Regions from separate parts of the Homo sapiens genome. Here region 2 is linked to region 1. Evidence: promoter capture Hi-C in 16 types of primary human blood cells and fetal thymus (Javierre and others, 2016). All regions are on one chromosome and are shown on one strand. Each heading gives the region's core, a stretch centred on a gene start or on the middle of the fragment in contact. The rest is flanking DNA. Distances are from core to core; before and after follow the strand shown. Region 1 holds the start of IL2 (interleukin 2). Region 2 overlaps IL21-AS1 (IL21 antisense RNA 1).

What was found. Contacts are between HindIII fragments. The CHiCAGO score rates a contact against its expected background, and 5 or more counts as called.
Region 2: a contact is called between a fragment that was not itself captured here and the fragment with the promoter of IL2 in region 1, in 1 of 17 cell types (activated CD4 T cells). The highest score is 5.1, in activated CD4 T cells.

The regions. Positions count from the first base shown.
Region 1 is chr4:122,455,473-122,459,418 of GRCh38, forward strand. It overlaps IL2 (interleukin 2), which reads right to left and starts at 1,253. Exons shown (of 4, transcript NM_000586.4): 1 at 822-1,253; 2 at 672-731. The coding sequence starts at 968. RefSeq lists an enhancer at 3,239-3,298. The HindIII fragment of the contact is 2,130 bases long and covers 1-2,028 here.
Region 2 is chr4:122,659,672-122,663,603 of GRCh38, forward strand. All of the region lies in intron 10 of IL21-AS1 (IL21 antisense RNA 1), which reads left to right. Among named protein-coding and RNA genes, the nearest start is that of IL21, 41 kb to the left of the region's middle. The HindIII fragment of the contact is 1,022 bases long and covers 1,201-2,222 here.

The DNA of each region.
Region 1 (3,946 bases), core at 3-2,502:
TTTTATCTTTAATACTACTAATAATAGCTAATGCTTGTATGGTATTTACCTTATGCCAGACACGGTTCTGAGTGCTTTACATTTACTTACTAATTCTCACAAAGCCATATTAAGTATATACAGTTATTCATTTAAGTAGACATGAAACTGAATCACAAACAGAGTAGGTAATTTGCCAAAGATCATGAAAGCTAGGACATGGCAGAGCTGAGATTTCACTTCAGATATCTGGCCCCAGACTCTGTGCTATTAGTGTTATGCTGCCTCTCACTTAGAAACCTTTCCTAAAACAAGAAAAGATTTTTAAAAGTGGGCTCCTTGGAAATAGATTTTGGTATTTTACATACTAAAATGACATAATCAAATATTTTAGAGTTTTACATTTTTAAATGAAACCATAAATGAACATTTTTGTTTAGAATTGTCTTATCGATAAAGTGAGAATATTATTTTTATGTTTTCTTCCCACCCCCACCAACACACAAATATATATTAAAAATATAGGTAAAACTGTTTTAATAGAGGCTTCATTATCAAACTTGGGTTTTCAAAAAAACAAATTAAAGTTACTCTTTACCTCAGATGAGCTGCTATTAGTCCCATCTGTGCAAATTTTCATATTACTTTGAATTTTATTAAAACAGAAATTGAACATAAAATATTGTACTTACCTTCTTGGGCATGTAAAACTTAAATGTGAGCATCCTGGTGAGTTTGGGATTCTTGTAATTCTAAGAAAGTATAATGCATTGTTATTAAGAAATGATCTCCAGCTAGATTACTAAATGTAATAATTTTAGTAAGAAAGGAAATATACTTACATTAATTCCATTCAAAATCATCTGTAAATCCAGCAGTAAATGCTCCAGTTGTAGCTGTGTTTTCTTTGTAGAACTTGAAGTAGGTGCACTGTTTGTGACAAGTGCAAGACTTAGTGCAATGCAAGACAGGAGTTGCATCCTGTACATTGTGGCAGGAGTTGAGGTTACTGTGAGTAGTGATTAAAGAGAGTGATAGGGAACTCTTGAACAAGAGATGCAATTTATACTGTTAATTCTGGAAAAATATTATGGGGGTGTCAAAATGTTTTACATATTACACATATTTTCAAAGACTTTACCTGTCTGAAAAAACATTACCTTCATTTTTCCTCTTCTGATGACTCTTTGGAATTTCTTTAAACCCCCAAAGACTGACTGAATGGATGTAGGTGAAATCCCTCTTTGTTACATTAGCCCACACTTAGGTGATAGCTCTAATTCATGCAATTAACGCCTTCTGTATGAAACAGTTTTTCCTCCTTTCTTTAAGGGGGTGGGGATACAAAAGTAACTCAGAAAATTTTCTTTGTCATAAAACTACACTGAACATGTGAATAGCATATTGTGGTGGACAAGAGCAAGAGTAAACAGATGAAAAGAATAAATGTTTAGATTTGTTGATAAAACAGGAAGTGTATTGGTTTCCTGTTTCAGAATGGTTTTACCTTTTTATCCACACAATGAGCTAATTGCATACAATAAGATAGATTGCTTCTTACATGTCAGCTAGAGAAATACTAAGATTAGAATACTTAAAATGCTTATTGAGCTTGAGGTACTGTTTAACGCTATTTTAATTTAAAATGATTATATATCTGTTTAAGTCTCTTAATGTCTATTGTACATTTTTTAAAGGGTGCGATTGTTAAATACTCAGAAAAAGGTTTGCATTCAAGGATACTGATGCTAGTTTTATAATAGACTTTGTATGTGTTATGTGTAAACCAGTCCATGTTTCTCGTTTTTATGTCTTTACCTCTTTAATGGATTTTTATTTATCCTCTAAATCACCTGGGACACTATGAATGTAACAATAATCGTTATGAAATATGATCTTGTTTTTAGTCAGAAGACTAGGATATTTAGGATAGGTGTTCATTCATCCTCAGTACAGTGCACAAACTGGCTGAACAATTGTACGGATATATACTTCTAATTTAACCTGGGGACACTTGAGGAGATCCTGTCTCAGAGAGAGTCCTTGTAAAGCTTCCATTCTATGGCCTTATTTATTTCTTACCTGGACTTTTTTTTTTTTTTTAAAGATGGTATTGTCTGTGTTTTTGTTTGTTTTTTTAAGACAATATTGTCTGGTCTTTAAACAGACATCTAGCACCTATAATGCCTTCAGGTATATAGAAAGAGAGAAAAGAGAACAGTGTACAGGCAGGCACTTAGTCTAATATAAGTCTTACAGACTTGTGAAGTGATGGCTCCTATTTTGCAGATTAGAAAACTGAGGCTCAGAGAAGTTAAGTAATTTGCTCTAGGTCACTCAGCCCTTATTGCCAGTAAGGGGCAGAAGAAGGATTTGAAAAGAGAATGTTCTGACTCCAAAAATCCACTCTCTTACCATTTGTATTTTTTCAAAGAACCTGATTTGTAATAGGGAAGATATGTACATACACAAGTGTAGTCCTGGGTGATAGGTGATTGCTGCCCCAAGGGAGGTGGATATAAGGAATCTTGAATAAGGAACAATTAATTTAAACTGGATTTTGAGGAGGGTGCATAGGCAGGAATGATTAAAGCAGTCTAAGGAACAGTCAAATGTAATATTTTACAAAGAACAGAGAAAAATGGTTCAATAAGAGTTTTCTATGCGTTAGGTAATGTTCGGAGAATATAAAACAAATTTAAAAATAAAGATTATAGTCCCTCAAGTAGAAAAAAAAATGAAGAAAAGGTCAGATTAGGGCCAAATCTCATGAACTTTTTATACGAAAAAATGCAAAATGTCTCTATACATTTCAGATCAAAATCACATTAACGCTGTTATAAGGGGCAGGCTATTTGGTAGTCTGTGTGTTATTTATTTAATATAATAAAGTACAGCTTTATTATACTTGTTTTGCTTCTCTAAAGAGTTTCAGTGTCTAATCCCAGCATCATCACTCAGGCCTTTACCCTTCCAGAATGGAAGAATTCAAGCCCACACATTTTCCTATGTGGGGGCTTTTCCAATGAGGTATTTGATGTTCTCCAGTCTTGATATTTCTATTTCTCTGGCTATTTCCATTAGAGAATGGGGCAATATATGGCTATACTTCTGGGACCCTGTAGAAAACTGAGTTCTTAGACCCCTAGTTTATCTCTGTTAATGCACAGTAGGCACCATTATAGAAGTTGGCTTTTTCATTTCTTTCTTGAAATACGTGTGGAAAAGCTACATTCGCTGTGACATACTTTCGCTTTCTCACGTCTGACACATCAGCTGGCTTTTCTGGTTGTGGCAGTAAAGTCACTAGTAGACTGCTAACTACCACGTGTGTCATACCCCCTGCTTCTCCTTTTACTATGCAGAATTTTACTATTAAACAAGAAGCTATTTTTAGTTGCTTAGCATTGTTTGTGACTTAGCCTCTTAGACTCAAGAGTGGCCCAAGTCCTTTCAAAGGGCAACCCCCATCCCTGAAGCTGCCTACCTAAGAGATTGCTCACTGTGTTGCACATATTGTCACTCCATCAAAGCTGACTTTCCAGGACTCTGCTTCCCATAAGTTTCTTCTTTCTGACCCTCTTTCAAAGTTTTGTAAAACTTTAATTTGGTCTGTAGCTTGATACCTATATTAATTCATCTCTTGTCAGTTTCTGTAAAGGCCTCTTGGGTTTTCAAGATTCAGTTCTGTTTCTTTGAAATTAGGAACGTGTTGGACAATTTCCACACCATCCAGAGATAATTCAGCTAGAAGCTCTGTGTTTCCTGTAAAAATCTGAATGAGCTCGGACATAGCTTGGTGATGCATTTGTCTTTATCAGCCCTATGGCCCTCCATAATGAAACACCACTTTTGTAAATCTGTTTATGATCACAGTTATGTCTCTGTGGTGTGTGCTCTTCCATGTGGCAAATTTTAATAATGTTCATAACCTTTTGGGATTGAAGAATTATTTCCATGGTACTTT
Region 2 (3,932 bases), core at 462-2,961, 200 kb after region 1:
CTGGAGTACAGTGGCACGATCTTGGCTCACTGCAAGCTCTGCCTTCTGGGTTCACACCATTCTCCTGCCTCAGCCTCCCAAGTAGCTGGGACTACAGGCGCCCGCCACCACACCTGGCTAATTTTTGTATTTTTAGTAGAGACAGGGTTTCACCACGTCAGCCAGGATGGTCTCAATCTCCTGACCTCGTGATCCGCCTGCCTTGGCCTCCCAGAGTGCTGGGATTAACTCAAGACACAGTAGTTGGCATTGACTCTCTGATGAAGTTCCAGATGGGAGAGTTAGTACATTTGTGTATATAGAGAGAGCAGAAGTTACAGGGATATGGATTTTGACTCCATTTAAGGAAGAACTCTGAAATACAAAGCTTTGGCGCAGTGAACCACCGTGCCCGGCCTCTATTACTCTTAATGTATAGGAAAACACTAGCAGACCATTGAGTAGGTACTGAGGGAAGAATCCTGCATTCAGCACAATAACACATCAGTGGGAGCCTCGAGCCTAAAGCTACTTCCCTCCCACCCCAAAGACAGCAAAGGACAGGAGCTGGTCTTCGTATCTTTATGCTTCTTAGAAACACCTGTGTTTTAATTGTGGCTCTACAATAGAGTGTTTGGACATGGGCACTTTCTAGTTTGGCAGTAGTTTATTTGCTATGTATCCTTATTCCTTATTCCAATTCAGTGTTTTTACATGGGTTCTACTTTTCTCTCAAGAAGGTGATTTTTTTCTAAAGCAGGACCATATCCTAAATAGAGCAATTTTATACGCAGTGTCCAGGACACAGTATTTGATTATAAAATGATAATGATGAGAGCTTAAAAAATTCAAACTATAGAGCTGGTAGAGATTTTAGAGCAGCACTGTCTAATATGGTAGCCACTAGCCACGTGTAGCTATTTAAATTAATTAGAATTAAATTAAATTAAAAAATCAGTTCCTCAGTCATACAAGTGCTCAATAAGCACAGGTAGTCAGTGACTACCATTTTGGACCTCACAGATACGGAACATTTCCATCACTGCAGAAAGTTATATAGTACAATGCTGCCTTAGCGATCAACGAGACACAAAATCATATTTGTAAAAGATGTCAGGGAACTTGGAATCCACTTAATACATTCTTATATCCAGGACATTTCAAATATTTTCAGTATCAAATAATATATCACCTTACAAAGTGGCCATTCCACCTTAGGAAAGCTTTGTATTTGAGAGTTCTTCCTTAAATGGAGTCAAAATCCATATCCCTGTAGCTTCTGCTCTCTCCATATACACAAGTATACTAACTCTCCCACTTGGAACTTCATCAGAGAGTCAATGCCAACTACTGTGTCTTGAGTTAATTCCTCTTTCCCAGTGAACCCGTGCCACAGATGAGGAGGCTGAGGCTGGAGTTAGCAGTCCTCCCTGGAGACTCCATGACAGAACTAAGACTGTTGATGTATTCCGGTCTAGCTGAACTGCTTTCAAGTCTAGAAACTAATTCATTAAAGAATGTGTGTGCATAAATTTGTAGAGTTTAAGTTCTTAGTCTTTTATCTTTTTTCCATTTTGTTGTTGCTGTTGTTGTTTTGTCATTGCTTTATTCTCTTTTTGCGCTGCATACTTCCTAAGAGACTGTAAGCTATTCCTTCCCCAGAAAAGCAAAGATTACTCAGGCTCTGCATGAGTGTTTCAGAATATAAAGCAATTGCCCTCATCCACACCCCAAATAACCCCAGATGCCAAGCATAGAAATCACCAAATGGCTTGCTTCAGTTTGACAGTTCAAAAGCAGTTTAAGGGTAAAAGAGGAAACCAGAAGCATTAAAGATCAATGATGTACTTCCACATGGTGTCTAGAAGAGAGGATGCCTTTGATAACGTATCATAAAGAAAGGGCATCTACCTCTCCAAAGTGGAGACTCTGCAGGTGAGATACTGTGTTAAGTGCCAATTGCAGCTTTGGATCTGTTCAACAAATGCACATTGAAGTGTGGAGTCTGTGCTGGGGCAACAAAGATGATTGAAACATTGTGTTTACCCTCTAGTCACTGGCAGGGAGGCCAAGTGGAGACAATAAACAGTCAATTACCACCATAGATGACTTCACTGGTCACTCCAATGGGTTTGTTTTCAAAGGAACCAGCAGGTCAGTCTTGGAAGTCAAACAGTTACAGGCTGTTGCTGTAACAGCAAAGCAACTCCTACGTGTCACTAGATAAGGGGAACTACAGATCAAGCTTCCTAGGGAAGAAGGTTCTCTGACCAAATCAGCCTGGGCCCAGAAAGTAAGTTGGCACTGTGTGAACAGCTAGCTATATGCTTTACCCACAAAAAAACTGGTACCCGATCCAGTATATTAACTTTGGCATATAATCAGAAATAATGCTACCATCTGTGCAGAACTATCTCTTCCTTTTACACAATCACCAGCCTCCACCAGCAACCATTCCCCTCAATATCCAGTACAGTGCTAGGTTCATGGTTGCACATACACACACACCACATAGATAGGATTTTATATAGAATTATTGTATATATATGTATATATACACACATATATAGGTATGATTTTGTTACATGTTTTATATGTTAATGATCATAATTTATACATAAATGTATATTTACATAAGGCACATACATTTACACTTATAAATACTTGTAATATTTTTATGTAACCCATATGTATGTATATGTATGCACACATATACACTGAAAACATTTCTAGAAGGATATAGAAGAAAGTTTTCATGGTGGTTACCTTAGCAGGGTAAGAATGGGGTTCTTGAGGTTAGAATAGGAAGATTACATTTGTATATTATTTTGTAGCCTTTTACATAGTTTAATTTTTTACACTGTCTATTACTTTTAAAACAACAAAACATTTTATTAATATTTGGTTATAACAAGGATACCATCATCTATCTTCACACTCCAAAGTGAGTTTTAACATGCAATTAGGCTGGGTTTATCAGGGTGGCTTACCTTAGACTATTTAAGTTAAGATTTCTTCTACATCTGATGACCTAAGTTAGCCCGAAATAAGATTAAATGAGGTGATATATGTGCCTATGTGACAGTGCTTTGCAAACTATAAATTCCTACATGTAGGTCTGTAACCTAGCTTGTTGGAGTGTGCCCAGAACCCAACTTGATGAAATCATCTAGGTCCTGGTCCTCTTCCCTAGACTATTTTTGGAAGGAAGTAAGAGGACACTACCACAGGCTAAGGTAGGAGAGGGGAGGGTAGGAAGCCTCCAGAAGTGCTACTGTAACATGAGTCTCCTTGTGGAGGAACGCTTCTCTCCTGTGTGATGCCTGAGCTGCCAGACCTTCCCCCTATTCTTAGCTGATGAGTGAAGACCTCTGCTGGGACAACGAAGTATCATGCTAGGGAATTTCATACAAATATGGTGAATTCATTGTCTCTTTGTTTAAAGGCTGAGCCACCTCCCACTCTACTTTTTCACTCCCCTTTATTGACTCTCTGGAATCCTCTTGTTTAATTTATTAATTGAACCAACACTTATTGAGTCTCTCCTCAATAAGTCCTGTCATGTCCTGGGGAGATGAGATGAATATGATATAGTCCTAGTCATTGAGATATTCACTGTTAATAGTGGATAAGGACATGGAAATTTTTTTTTAAATGCAATTCAGTCCATTGACTATTATAGCAAAAACATGCACAGAGAACTGTGACAGTGACTATGCAAAGGAAAGAAGAAGGGACATTGAAGAATGGGTAGGAGTTTGCCAGGCAGGAATTTTGAACAGACAGAGCAGCGCAGGCAAATGCAGAGAGGCTTGAAAATGCATGAGAGATTCAGGAGAAAGGGAATATAGTTGAGTTTGGCTGAAATACAGAATGGAGACAAAGTGACAGAGACAAATCTAAAAAGGCTAGACAGGGTCAGGTTGTAAATGGCATTGTGTATTGTGCTAAGG